2 separate regions of the Homo sapiens genome follow, and region 2 is linked to region 1. Evidence: promoter capture Hi-C in human tissues and cell types (Jung and others, 2019). All regions are on one chromosome and are shown on one strand. Each heading gives the region's core, a stretch centred on a gene start or on the middle of the fragment in contact. The rest is flanking DNA. Distances are from core to core; before and after follow the strand shown.

Region 1 (5,877 bases), core at 1,158-3,657:
AAGCAAACATCAGAATCACACTCAGATATTGGAATTATCAGACAAGAAATTTAAAATGTGGTCTGTTAAGGGGTCTAATGGTAAAAGTAAACAACATACAAGAACAGATGGGTAATGTAAACAGACATAAGAAAACTAAGAATCATGCGAGGTGTGGTGGTTCACACTTGTAATCCCAGCAGTTTGGGAGGCTGAGGCAGGCAGATCACTTGAGGTCAGGAGTTTGAGACCAGCCAGGCCAACAAGGTGAAACCCCATCTCTACTAAAAATACAAAAATTAGACTGGGCACAGTGGCTCATGACTGTAATCACAGCACTTTGGGAGGCCAATGCGGGTGGATCACGAGGTCAGGAGTTCAAGACCAGCCTGGCCAACATGGTGAAACCCTGTCTCTACTAAAAATACAAAAACTAGCTGGGTGTGGTGGTGGGCACCTGTAATCTCAGCCACTTGGGAGGCTGAGGCAGGAGAATCATTTGAACCTGGGAGGCAGAGGTTGCAGTGAGCCAAGATAGTGCCATTGCACTCCAGCCTGGGTGACAGAGCGAGACTTCGTCTCAAAAAAAAAAAAAAAAAAAATTAGCCAGGCATGGTGGTGTGCACCTGTAGTCCCAGCTAAGTGGCAGAGGTGGGAGAATTGCTTGAGCCCAGGAGGTAGAGGTTGCAGTGAGCAGAGATTGCACCAGTGCACTCCAGGCTGGGTGACAGAGACTTTGTCTCAAAACAAACAAACAAACACCCTAAGAATCAAAAGGAAGTGCTAGAAGTTAAAACCTTAAATGAAAAATGCCTTAATGGGCTTATCAGTAGACTGTCCATAACCAAAGATTAAATGAATTTGAAGATAGGTCAACAGAAACTTCCCCACTAAAATGCAAAGAGAACCTCCATCACCCCGCCAGAACATTCGAGAACTATGAGGCAATTCCAGAAGACATAAAATGCATTTAACTTGAATACTAGAAAGAGAAAAGAGTGAAGAATAAATACCTGAACTAATAAATGGCTAAGAACTTTACAAAATTAATGACAGACATGAAATCACAGATCCAGGAGGCTCAGAGGACTCCAAGCAGGACAAATACAAAACATCTACAGATCTGCATTACCTTATTCTAACCCCGTAAACCAAACACCAAGAGAAAATTTGAAAGAAGCTAAAGGAAAAAGCCATCATACCTATAAATGTAATTGCATTTAATTACTTGTTTGAAACCATGCAAGCAAAAAAAGAGTGGAGTGAACTATTTAAATTGTTGAAAGAAAAACACCAGGGCCAGGCGCAGTGGCTCACGCCTGTAATCCCAGCACTTTGGGAAGCTGAGACGGGCGGATCATCTGAGGTCAGGAGTTTGATACCAGCCTGACCAACATGGAGAATCCCCGTCTCTACTGACAATACAAAATTAGCTGGGTGTAGTGGCGCATGCCTGTAAGTCCGGCTACTCGGGAGGCTGAGGCAGGAGAATCACTTGAACCTGGGAGGCGGAGGTTGCGGTGAGCCAAGATAGCACCATTGCACTCCAGAAGGGAGGGAGGGAAAGGAAAAACACTAACCTAGAATTCTAAATCTGGCAAAATCACTCTTCAAAAGAGAAGGAGAAATACCTTTCAGATCAAGAGTACTTCAGAAATGTATCTTTTTTTTTTTTGAGAGGGAGTCTTGCTCTGTCGCCCAGGCTGGAGTGCAGTGGCGCGATCTCGGCTCACTGCAACTTCCCGGGTTCGAGCGATCCTCCCACCTCAGTCTTCTGAGTAGCTGGGACCACAGGTGCTGCCACCACACCAGGCTAATTTTTGTATTTTCAGTAGAGACGGGGTTTCGCCATGTTGGGCAGGCTGGTCTCGAATTCCTGACCTCAAGCGATCCTTCCGCCTCGGCTTCCCCAAAGGCTGGGTTTACAGGCGGGAGCCACCGCGCCTGGCCCTAGAAATACATCTCACCCATAGTTTGTTTACGAAAAAATTGAGGTCCTGAGTTAAGTGGCTGAATTTAGGAAGGAATTGATCCCAAACCATCTTTTTTTCTTTTGCTAAGAAGTTTAAGTCAACGTCAGAAAGTGCAGTTTGAACTCTTCATGATAAAACTGGAGATGTTTGGGGAGAAAAATGGACAATACGTTCAATAGGACGTTATCAGCTGACTTGGTATCCAAACTGAGCTTTCCTGATTATTTCTTATTGCAATGTCTGACTTTTAGCCTATGTAAAAATATTTTCCCGTGGGTGGATGGGGAAATGACTAATTTACAGGACGCGACAACCTAAACCTTCCAAGGGGAAGGCGTCCTAAAGCGAAGCTGCACACACCGGTTCTCGCCGCGCCGGGTCGAAGGCCGCCTACAAGTCCCAGAGTGCTCCGCGGCGTGCGCTGCCCGCCGGGAAGCGTCTCCTGTGCGTCTGCGCGGGAAGTGGAACCTGGCTCTGGGGAGAAGCCGCGTGAGATCCGCGCGGGTGCTAGCTAGTCCTTTCTCGTCGCTGCTCGGCTCGCGGCCCGTGGGGTCGGCCCCGCCACCGTTGCCGCCATGCCCATGAAGGGCCGCTTCCCCATCCGCCGCACCCTGCAATATCTGAGCCAGGGGAACGTGGTGTTCAAGGACTCCGTGAAGGTCATGACAGTGAATTACAACACGCATGGGGAGCTGGGCGAGGGCGCCAGGTCAGTCGCAGCCCCGGCCGCCTGGCGAGCCGTAACCTGCTAGTCGTGCCAGCCTGCTGGTAACGTGAGGTCCCGAGTCGCTCTGGGCGGCCGTTCATCCCCGGGGCGGGCCCCCCAGGTCGGCGCTGTTACCCCCATTTTACAGAGGTCCAGACTGAGGCGGACGGCGGGGCCCCCGCCGGGCCGGCTGCAGTCGTGACGAGGTTTGGGGGGCGGAGGACAAGAACCCCACTCCTGGATCTCCTTCCTCCGGCGCGGTGGGCGAGGCTGACCCGAGGGAGGCCACCAGTTCCCTTGGCCCCTCTGGCCAGCAAGGCAAGCGCTGGGGAGGGGCAGCCGCAGATCCTTTCGGGGTGACGGGGGTGACACCCCAGGACGAATCTGAGGATAAAATGAGAGAAATAACAGCGGCGAACACTGATCATATCTCGCACAGTTCTGAATGCTTCTCGCGCTTTCTTTTTTCTGATGCCTAGAGAAACCCCAGCTTATCCCCACTCTAAGGCTGGGGAAGCGCACAGAGAGGTTAAGTAACTTGCAGCTCCACGAGACACCATGCCAGCCGGTGAGCGGTGAGCCGGGCAGTGTGGCCGCTTCCTTCGGGACTCAAGGTTTGGAAGGAAGTGATTAATTATGTCAGCTGTGCAGCGGCAGACCCTACCCCGACTAGAAGGAACTGTAGGGAACGCCTAGGATGTCTTTCAGCTTGGAGCAGAGTAGGGACTCATTGAATGGCAGTTGGCAAGTGAAAGGTTTGGATTGACCCTGAGGCAGCCCTAAGCAGTGCCTTAGGCTCTGCAGGTATGAAGTCTACATTTATTGAGTACACTCTGAGTGCTAGGCTGTGTGCTGTGTGCTGGGAGTTCAGCAGTGATGGAGGAGGCAGCCTTAGCCCGCAGAAACTTTGGGACTTGGGTGTATGTTGGATCAAAATGAGGCGTGGGGGCGGGGAGCAACTTCTTGTGGGGCATGGTCCCCTTGGTGACGGACCTTCACTGCATGGCCCTTCAAGAGATCCGGAAGCCGCTTCCTAGCCATTTGCTCTGCGCAGGTGAATCTGATAACTTGGACCTGCTTGCCTGGAATCAGCTGGCTTGATGGCTTCCTGGAAGACTTGGTCTTGGTCTTAGGGTGTATGGGCACCCAGATACTCCTTCATAACCTACTGCACAACTGTGCACACCTTTGTCCCCGGGCAACTGCCAGGCAGATAATGGGAAGGGGTGGGGGTCTCGGTGCGGCCCGCAGCGAGCTGGAGAGCACATGCCCTATCCAGAGGGCCCTTCACTGTTTGGCATTGTGGGCTCCGTGGAGAATTTCTCATTTGTCAAGAAGCTGAAATCTAGGTTTTTATGTAAATCTCTGGCTTTTAAATGGCCAGCCAATCAAAATAAGCCTGTGAGCCTCTTACTTACATTCTCAGATATTTTAATGTCCTCTAGGTAAATGGGATACAAACAGCCATTCACTGTTTCTTTGTTCCTGGTGGTAGGGGCTGGCCTGTGCCACCTGTGCCCTCTGTGATCTTGTACCCGTGGGTTGGAGTCTGTCTGCCTTGCTCTGGCTAGCCGCAGTCCTCCCCCAATCCCCAGCCCTTGTTTGTTCATGTGCCCTCAGCCCTTCAGCTGCCCCACTGGGACCTACCTCCATCCCAAGTGCCTGCGACCGGTCCAGCCAGTCTTTGGGTACCTGCTGGGGGCAATGGGAAGGTGCCTTATTTAGTATTTGAGGGCCAAGTCCTTACTCACCTCTGCCAGGTGTTCTACCCTGAACAAGTGGTCCCCAAGCCTCAGGGTGAATTTGATGGTGACAGAACAGTGTGATCGAAGGCCAGACTAATCAGCCCAGTTAGACCTGGGGCAGTTTACTTAACTTCTGACCTTAGTTTCCTTAAATTGTAAAACCCCACCTTCTGGGGTTGGAGAGTCAGGTGCCTAGCAAAGTGTCTGGCATATACAGCAGTTGCTCAACTCAAGGTTCCTGCCATTATTAACTTTCTTTTTTTTTTTTTTTCAATTGATCATTCTTGGGTGTTTCTCGCAGAGGGGGATTTGGCAGGGTCATAGGACAATAGTGGAGGGAAGGTCAGCAGATAAACAAGTGAACAAAGGTCTCTGGTTTTCCTAGGCAGAGTGTTTGTGTCCCTGGGTACTTGAGATTAGGGAGTGGTGATGACTCTTAACGAGCATGCTGCTTTCAAGCATCTGTTTAACAAAGCACATCTTGTACCGCCCTTAATCCATTTAACCCTGAGTGGACACAGCACATGTTTCAGAGAGCACAGGGTTGGGGGTAAGGTCACAGATCAACAGGATCCCAAGGCAGAAGAATTTTTCTTAGTACAGAACAAAATGAAAAGTCTCCCATGTCTACCTCTTTCCACACAGACACGGCAACCATCCGATTTCTCAATCTTTTCCCCACCTTTCCCCCCTTTCTATTCCACAAAACTGCCATTGTCATCATGGCCCGTTCTCAATGAGCTGTTGGGCACACCTCCCAGATGGGGTGGTGGCCGGGCAGAGGGGCTCCTCACTTCCCAGTAGGGGCGGCCGGGCAGAGGCGCCCCTCACCTCCTGGACGGGGCGGCTGGCCGGGCAGGGGGCTGACCCCCCCCACCTCCCTCCCGGATGGGGCGGCTGGCCGGGCGGGGGGCTGACCCCCCACCTCCCTCCCGGACGGGGCGGCCTGGCCGGGCAGAGGGGCTCCTCACTTCCCAGTAGGGGCGGCCCGGGCAGAGGCGCCCCCTCACCTCCTGGACGGGGCGGCTGGCCGGGCGGGGGGCTGACCCCCTGACCTCCCCTCCCGGACCGGGCGGCTGGCCCGGGCCAGAGGGGCTCCTCACTTCGCATTAGGGGCGGCAGGCAGAGGTGCCCCTCACCTCCCAGTACGGGGCGGCTGGCCGGGCGGGGGGCTGACCCGCCGCACTCCCTCCCGGATGGGGCGGCTGGCCGGGCGGCTGAGCCCCCTACCTCCCTCCCAGACGGGGCGGCTGGCCTGGCGGGGGCTGACCCCCAACTCCCTCCCGGACGGGGCGGCTGCCGGGCGGAGACGCTCCTCACTTCCCAGACGGGGCGGCTGCCGGGCGGAGGGGCTCCTCACTTCTCAGACGGGGCGGCTGCCGGGCGGAGGGGCTCCTCACTTCTCAGACAGGGCGGCTGCCGGGCGGAGGGTCTCCTCCCTTCTCAGACGGGGTGGCTGGGCAGAGATGCTCCT
Region 2 (5,729 bases), core at 798-3,297, 410 kb after region 1:
TCCTGAGGAGACCCTCAGACCACCCTGCCCCATGTCTGCTCTGCCAAGGAAAACAGAAGCTCCGTGAGTGCATGGCCTGTGTCCTCTTATTTATTACTTGGTCCCAGGGCCTAAAATAACACTTGGCACACAGTAGGTTCTCAATCAATATTTGATGAATGAATAAGTGGATCAACTGACTTAAGAATCCAACAACTTAATTTAACTGCCAACTTAAAACAAATGTCAACATTCCAACAAAGCAGCCTCTCTGCTCACAGTAATTCTGATGACATGTATTTTTCAGTGGTACAGACCATGAGAGGGTAAGCAATTCTTTATTCTGGAAATACTTAATGATGGTAAAGAGAAGCCCCAAAGAGTTCTCTTGTGGATGATCTGCGAGTTCTCTTGTGAATGACCACTCTTAATCACAATGTCAGAAACATTCCTCTTTTATTTTACACATCCATTCACCAAGTACTTATTGCACACCTCCTACCTGCCAAGCACTGTTTTAGGCACTGAGGACTCACAGGAACAAGAAAAAGTCCCAGCTTCCTGGGAGTTCCCATTCTAGAGATGGAGAAGGACAATAAAGAAAGGAATGAAAAGGAGGACCTGAGACTGTGAGAAGAGCTGTGAGGGGAAGAAACGCATGCCAGCAGAGAGGCCCCTTGACATGCAGTAATGCAGTGCATGGTGGACCGGCTCACTCATATCAGGCTTCTAAGACCCCTATTTTGGAGGGCTCTTACTGTAACTAGCTGGTCATCAGAGGATCTTACTGTTTTAATGAAAAGAAAACTAGAAAAAATTTAAAAGTCAAACAGAACACAAAGCAACAAGTGTCAGGTTAGAGTGAGTGGGCAGGACACTAACTGAGAGAGGGCAGTCAGGGGAAACCTCTCTGAACATGAAAACGGAGCCATGGCTTGCACAGCAAGAAGCAGCCAACCACAGGAGGATCTGGGGGCAGGGAAGGCAGGTCAGAAAAAGGAAAGATTAAGTGAGGATGAGCTTGACATTTTCAAGAGAGACCAGTAGAGCAGAGGGTGCTGAGCAAAATAGAGAATGGTGCAAAATAGAGACAGAGACAGGCAGGGATGAGAGCACGTGAGAAAGGATATGAAACTTGGTGCAGTGTAGCAACAGTTTTCAGGGGTTAGGAACAGACTACAAATGGATAATTGAGATCAAGGAAGGTGTCAGGGAAACGGCCGCTGGATTTAGTGGATGAGGATGTCACTAGTGACTTTAAAGAACAGTTTCTTCTGTTGAGTTAGAAAGATGGGATTCAGAGCATGAGAGCAGGGACACTGCCTGCAACCTCTAAGTGCCAGACACTATTTATCTCCTTTAATTCCCTGAAGGACTTCATAACCTAAGTATTAACCACCTCACTTCATAGATAAAGAAAGAGTCTTAACAGATAACTAACTTGCCCAAGGCCTTCTACCTCAGAAAAGCCTGGGACTGTGCTTGCGTGTTCTGAGCTCTGGAGGGAGGCAGACATCCTGCAGTTGTCTTGACTCCCACAACACAGCAAAACCAAAGTGCTTCATAAAAGTTACTGCATAGAAAAAGCACAGCAAAGTGCCAAGAAAAACTCTTGATACACAGAGCAAAATAATAAAAGATCATGGTAACTTTGGACAAAATTAAAATTCTGAGAATATGTCCAAGAGTGGGAAATGTCTCAAAACTGATCATATCTTTAAGTAAAGCCTGAGGTCTGTTGGGGACAGGTCAAATGCTAAGAAAATGTCCCCAAATGGGCTAATATTCTGCCTTCTATCTTCAGACCCAAGATTGCTGAGCAACCTTGGCAACTACTGTTTGGGACCACAGAATTTTATTATTCCATATATCCAAAAGCACATGTAGCAGTCATGCCAAACATTGAAACTTGGGATTCTCTCTGAGGGTGATGCTGTCTTTTCTTTAGAAAAATAATAAAGATGGAATGACAGAATTAGAAAAATCATCATTCTGAAACCAGCAATGTGATAACTGATAACTATCAAGATTCATCAATGATAACAAATCATTGCATGGAAATGAGTTGGTGAAGAGGATATTCACACAGTCTCCAAATTTCCCACTTCAGATTACTATTAATTACAAATTGGGGAGGCACCTTTACAGTGGTGAAACCAAGCATATATACCTTAACCAAGTAATCAAACCTATCAACACCAATAACGACTCAAACTGACCTTATGAGCCTCCTGATGTGATTCAATGGGAAGGACACACCACTGCCCACATAGTATTCTTACCAAAAACATTTCATACGACTCTAATTGGTTGTGGGACACTGCAGAAATAACTGGCCTGGACCCTTTAAAAACGTTAATGGCATAACAGACAACCAAAAGGCAAGGGAACAGTTCTAGATTAAAGAAGACTAAACAGATTTGACAACTACAAACAATGGGTAATCTTTGAATCCTGGATTTTTTTTTAAATCTATAAAATACATAATTGTACTGGGATAACTGGTGAAATCTGAATATGGACCACAAAATAGATAATACTAATTTATCAGTGTTAAATTTCTTGGGTTTGATAGCGGTATTGTGGTTATGTAGGAAAATGTCCTTGTTCTCAGAAGATATAGGCTGAACGACTTACAGGGAAAGTATGAAGCTTAAAGTCTCTCTACACACGCGTGTGTGTGTGTAAGAGAGAGAGAGGGAAAGCACATGTGACAAGATGTTAACTGGGGAATTTAGGTGAAGAATATTAGAATGTTCTATGTACCCTTGAAGTTTTTCAAAATAAAAGGTGGGGGGGAAGTTTAGGGTTTCTAAATTCTAGTGTCATCCCACCTAGCCCACACCATGGGAAAACCTCTTAAAAATGTATTGATAATCTTAGTGTCTAACAAAGGCTGACAGCAAGAATGTTTCATCTTATAAACTGTGACTATGTTTTACCTTTTTATAAGACTACAGATATATCTGCAAATTATATTATTTTTAGAGTACTTAGAGCATTGGGCTAGAAGGATGTTAAAAATAAAATTTGTAAATCAAAAAGGACAAAATTTGAACTTCCATTTCTCTGCCTGGGTAGCCTCAAAGCTAACTATATTTACCAGAGCTTATAACTTTACCTTGCTTTGTCTAAAGTCTTCTGTTCTTCAATCTTCTGTTCAGCATCCTTCTCAGCTCGATTTGAAACGCCTACATTCTGTTTGCTCCAGATACTTGGTTTCTGGAGAATAATTTTAGAAGACAAAACAGAACCACATGATTGCCAAAAAATCTCTACTTGTGCATCAGGAAAAAAAAAAACAAAGGAGATCATGAGTTCTTATGAATCAATGGAGATAACTAGATAAGCTGTGTCCTACAAAGATACTGACTATACATGGCAAGCAGGAGCTAAAAAAAGAGCCCTCAATTATATAAATAACTTTTTTTTTTTTCTTTGAGACAGGATCTCACTCTGTCACCCAGGCTGGAGTGTGGTGGTGCGATCTCAGCTCACTGCAGCCTCAACATCCTGGGCTCAAGTGATCCTCCCACCTCAGCTTCCCAAGTAGCTGGGAATACAGGTGCGCACCACCATGCCTGACTAATTTTTTTTTGTAGAGACGGGGTTTTGCCATGTTGCTCAGGCGGGTCTCGAACTCCTGGGGTCAAGTGATCTGCCTGCCTCGGCCTTCCAAAGAGATGGGATTAGAGGCGTGGGAACCACGCCCAGCCTAAAGAGCTTCCTGAGTGCAGAATCACTTCCTACTATCTTTTATCTCCTGAATGATTACAACCTAAATCAAGATTAATGAAAATGTACATATTACAGAGAATTAGTAATACAAATAGTAGACACTATTACCTATAAAACTGGAAAAATTCACAGCTCTTATACACCCTGATATTTTCCGCTATATTCCTATATTATCTAATTGTTTATCTCTATTTGGATACCTAACACTTATAGAACCAGATAACCTTCCATCTGTTTATGAAATGTAAACAATCCACATTTTTCCAAAAGAAGTGCTAAAGAATTAGCACATTACTATGTACTTTTATATAATCTTACTAATTTCTATTTTAATAACATTTCATGCAGATGTTAAATACAAGATAGAGATTTTTCCTTAACATTTATGTGTACAGATACCACTGACAATTTTAAAACACTTAAATATGGTATAATTCTCCCATGTTTGGAACCAATGGAGATAATTAGATCTTATTTTTTACCTTGTTAGTTGTTTTTGGTTTTCCAAAAACTCCAGAATCTTTTAGAAGTTTTTCTTGTTTGAATTCTTCTTGCTTTCGGAAGAGTTCAGCCTTAAGATCTACCAACTAGAATGAAAGCAGTAAGTAAACAAAAATATTAAATTCCTGCAGGTGACTGGATTGCTAAATTATTATAATTTCCAAAGGAATATTTCAAGTTCCGCTAAATGGACAAATATGGCTAAAAAACTAAATGTTTAAGTAACTAAATGTTTAAATGTAGAATCCAGTACACAAATTAAGCTAAGTCATGTTTCATTCTACCTCTGCTGCAAATGCATTTTTACTCTGACTTTCAACACTCGAGGCTTTCCTTAGGCAAGGAGAAAGTGATAAAGCAAAATAAATTAATAAAGTCTGCATCTTTTAGTTTCAGATTAAACTTGCATTATTAAGCACCTTCTCTCTGACTAGCACTGCACTCATTTCATCATCACAACTTATTTCTACAGTGAAATGCTGTAGAAATAACGCTGAAGAGCAGAACATAAACATGAATTAGACATACTCTCTGCCTCAAAGAGCCTACAATGTAACAAGGAAAGTAATTTATACTACCAACAAAATAAAACAAATGACTCTAGAGTGGAAGAAAGTAGCACATAAGTTCAGATAACAGAGCATTTCCTTCTGAGCAGAGTGATCAGAGAAAGCTTAGAGCAGAGCCTTTAAAGACACATTATTTCAACAGCTAGAAATAAAATAGACTGGGTGAATTATAACAGCTCCACGTTTGACTTAATCCATTTCAAAAACCGTAAGCTTGGCTGAATCACACGGTTCAAGAACAGGAAAGAAGGCCAAGGCATAGGGAGTGGGGCAGTTGGGTGAATATTAGTACCTTTCCCTCAGCTACATTAATTACCCCTGCCTACTCTGCAAAAAAGGATATAACAACAGTTTCCTTTTTAATGGTCCAGGTACAGCTGCTTATATGGATGGGCATTTGTAAATCAGATACTTCATCACTGTCTTAATCATCAGATACTTAAAAAAATCACTTTATTTGTTAAGGAAGATAAAAATGGCTGGGTTCAATTTCCGTTTTGGAAGAAATCGATTTAAAAGGTAACCATTTAATAATGCAAAGGGCAGTTTCACTGCAGACCCTAATACTGGAAATTTTTAAAAACAAATGAAAAACTTCTACTTTTTCTTCTAAGCTTACTTAACCACACCAAATTTTCCAGCCACATATCTTCCTAGTCTACAACTGCCTTTAACTTTAAGAGATGCTCAAAAAAATGTAAATTCTCAAATAGCATTCTTATTACAATTACTGCTAACCTGTCAGTATAGGTTGGCTTTAATATTTATAGCTTTCTGGTTCCTGATCTTCAAACAAAATAATAACTGGTACCAATTTTAACCAATAATAGTTACCAATAATAACTAGTACTCAAATATTGGGACACCTATATGTTTTCCTTCCTACTCACTTTGTGTCCTAATACTCTGAAGTAAATTCAAGATTAAATCAAAGGTTGGGCA

What was found. The method cuts DNA at HindIII sites, captures the fragments that hold promoters and counts their contacts. A contact is called where the count stands out against the background at its distance.
Region 2: a fragment that was not itself captured here is called in contact with the fragment with the promoter of MRPS25 in region 1 in 1 of the 25 tissues and cell types used here (dorsolateral prefrontal cortex).

The regions. Positions count from the first base shown.
Region 1 is chr3:15,061,845-15,067,721 of GRCh38, reverse strand. It overlaps MRPS25 (mitochondrial ribosomal protein S25), which reads left to right and starts at 2,407. Exons shown (of 4, transcript NM_022497.5): 1 at 2,407-2,661. The coding sequence starts at 2,528. RefSeq lists an enhancer at 2,248-2,427. The HindIII fragment of the contact is 13,424 bases long and covers 1-5,877 here.
Region 2 is chr3:14,653,001-14,658,729 of GRCh38, reverse strand. CCDC174 (coiled-coil domain containing 174) reads right to left here. Exons shown (of 11, transcript NM_016474.5): 2 at 4,200-4,304; 3 at 3,101-3,201. It overlaps LOC124906215 (a long non-coding RNA gene), which reads left to right. Exons shown (of 3, transcript XR_007095827.1): 3 at 1-18. Among named protein-coding and RNA genes, the nearest start is that of CCDC174, 4.1 kb to the right of the region's middle. The HindIII fragment of the contact is 6,308 bases long and covers 1-5,201 here.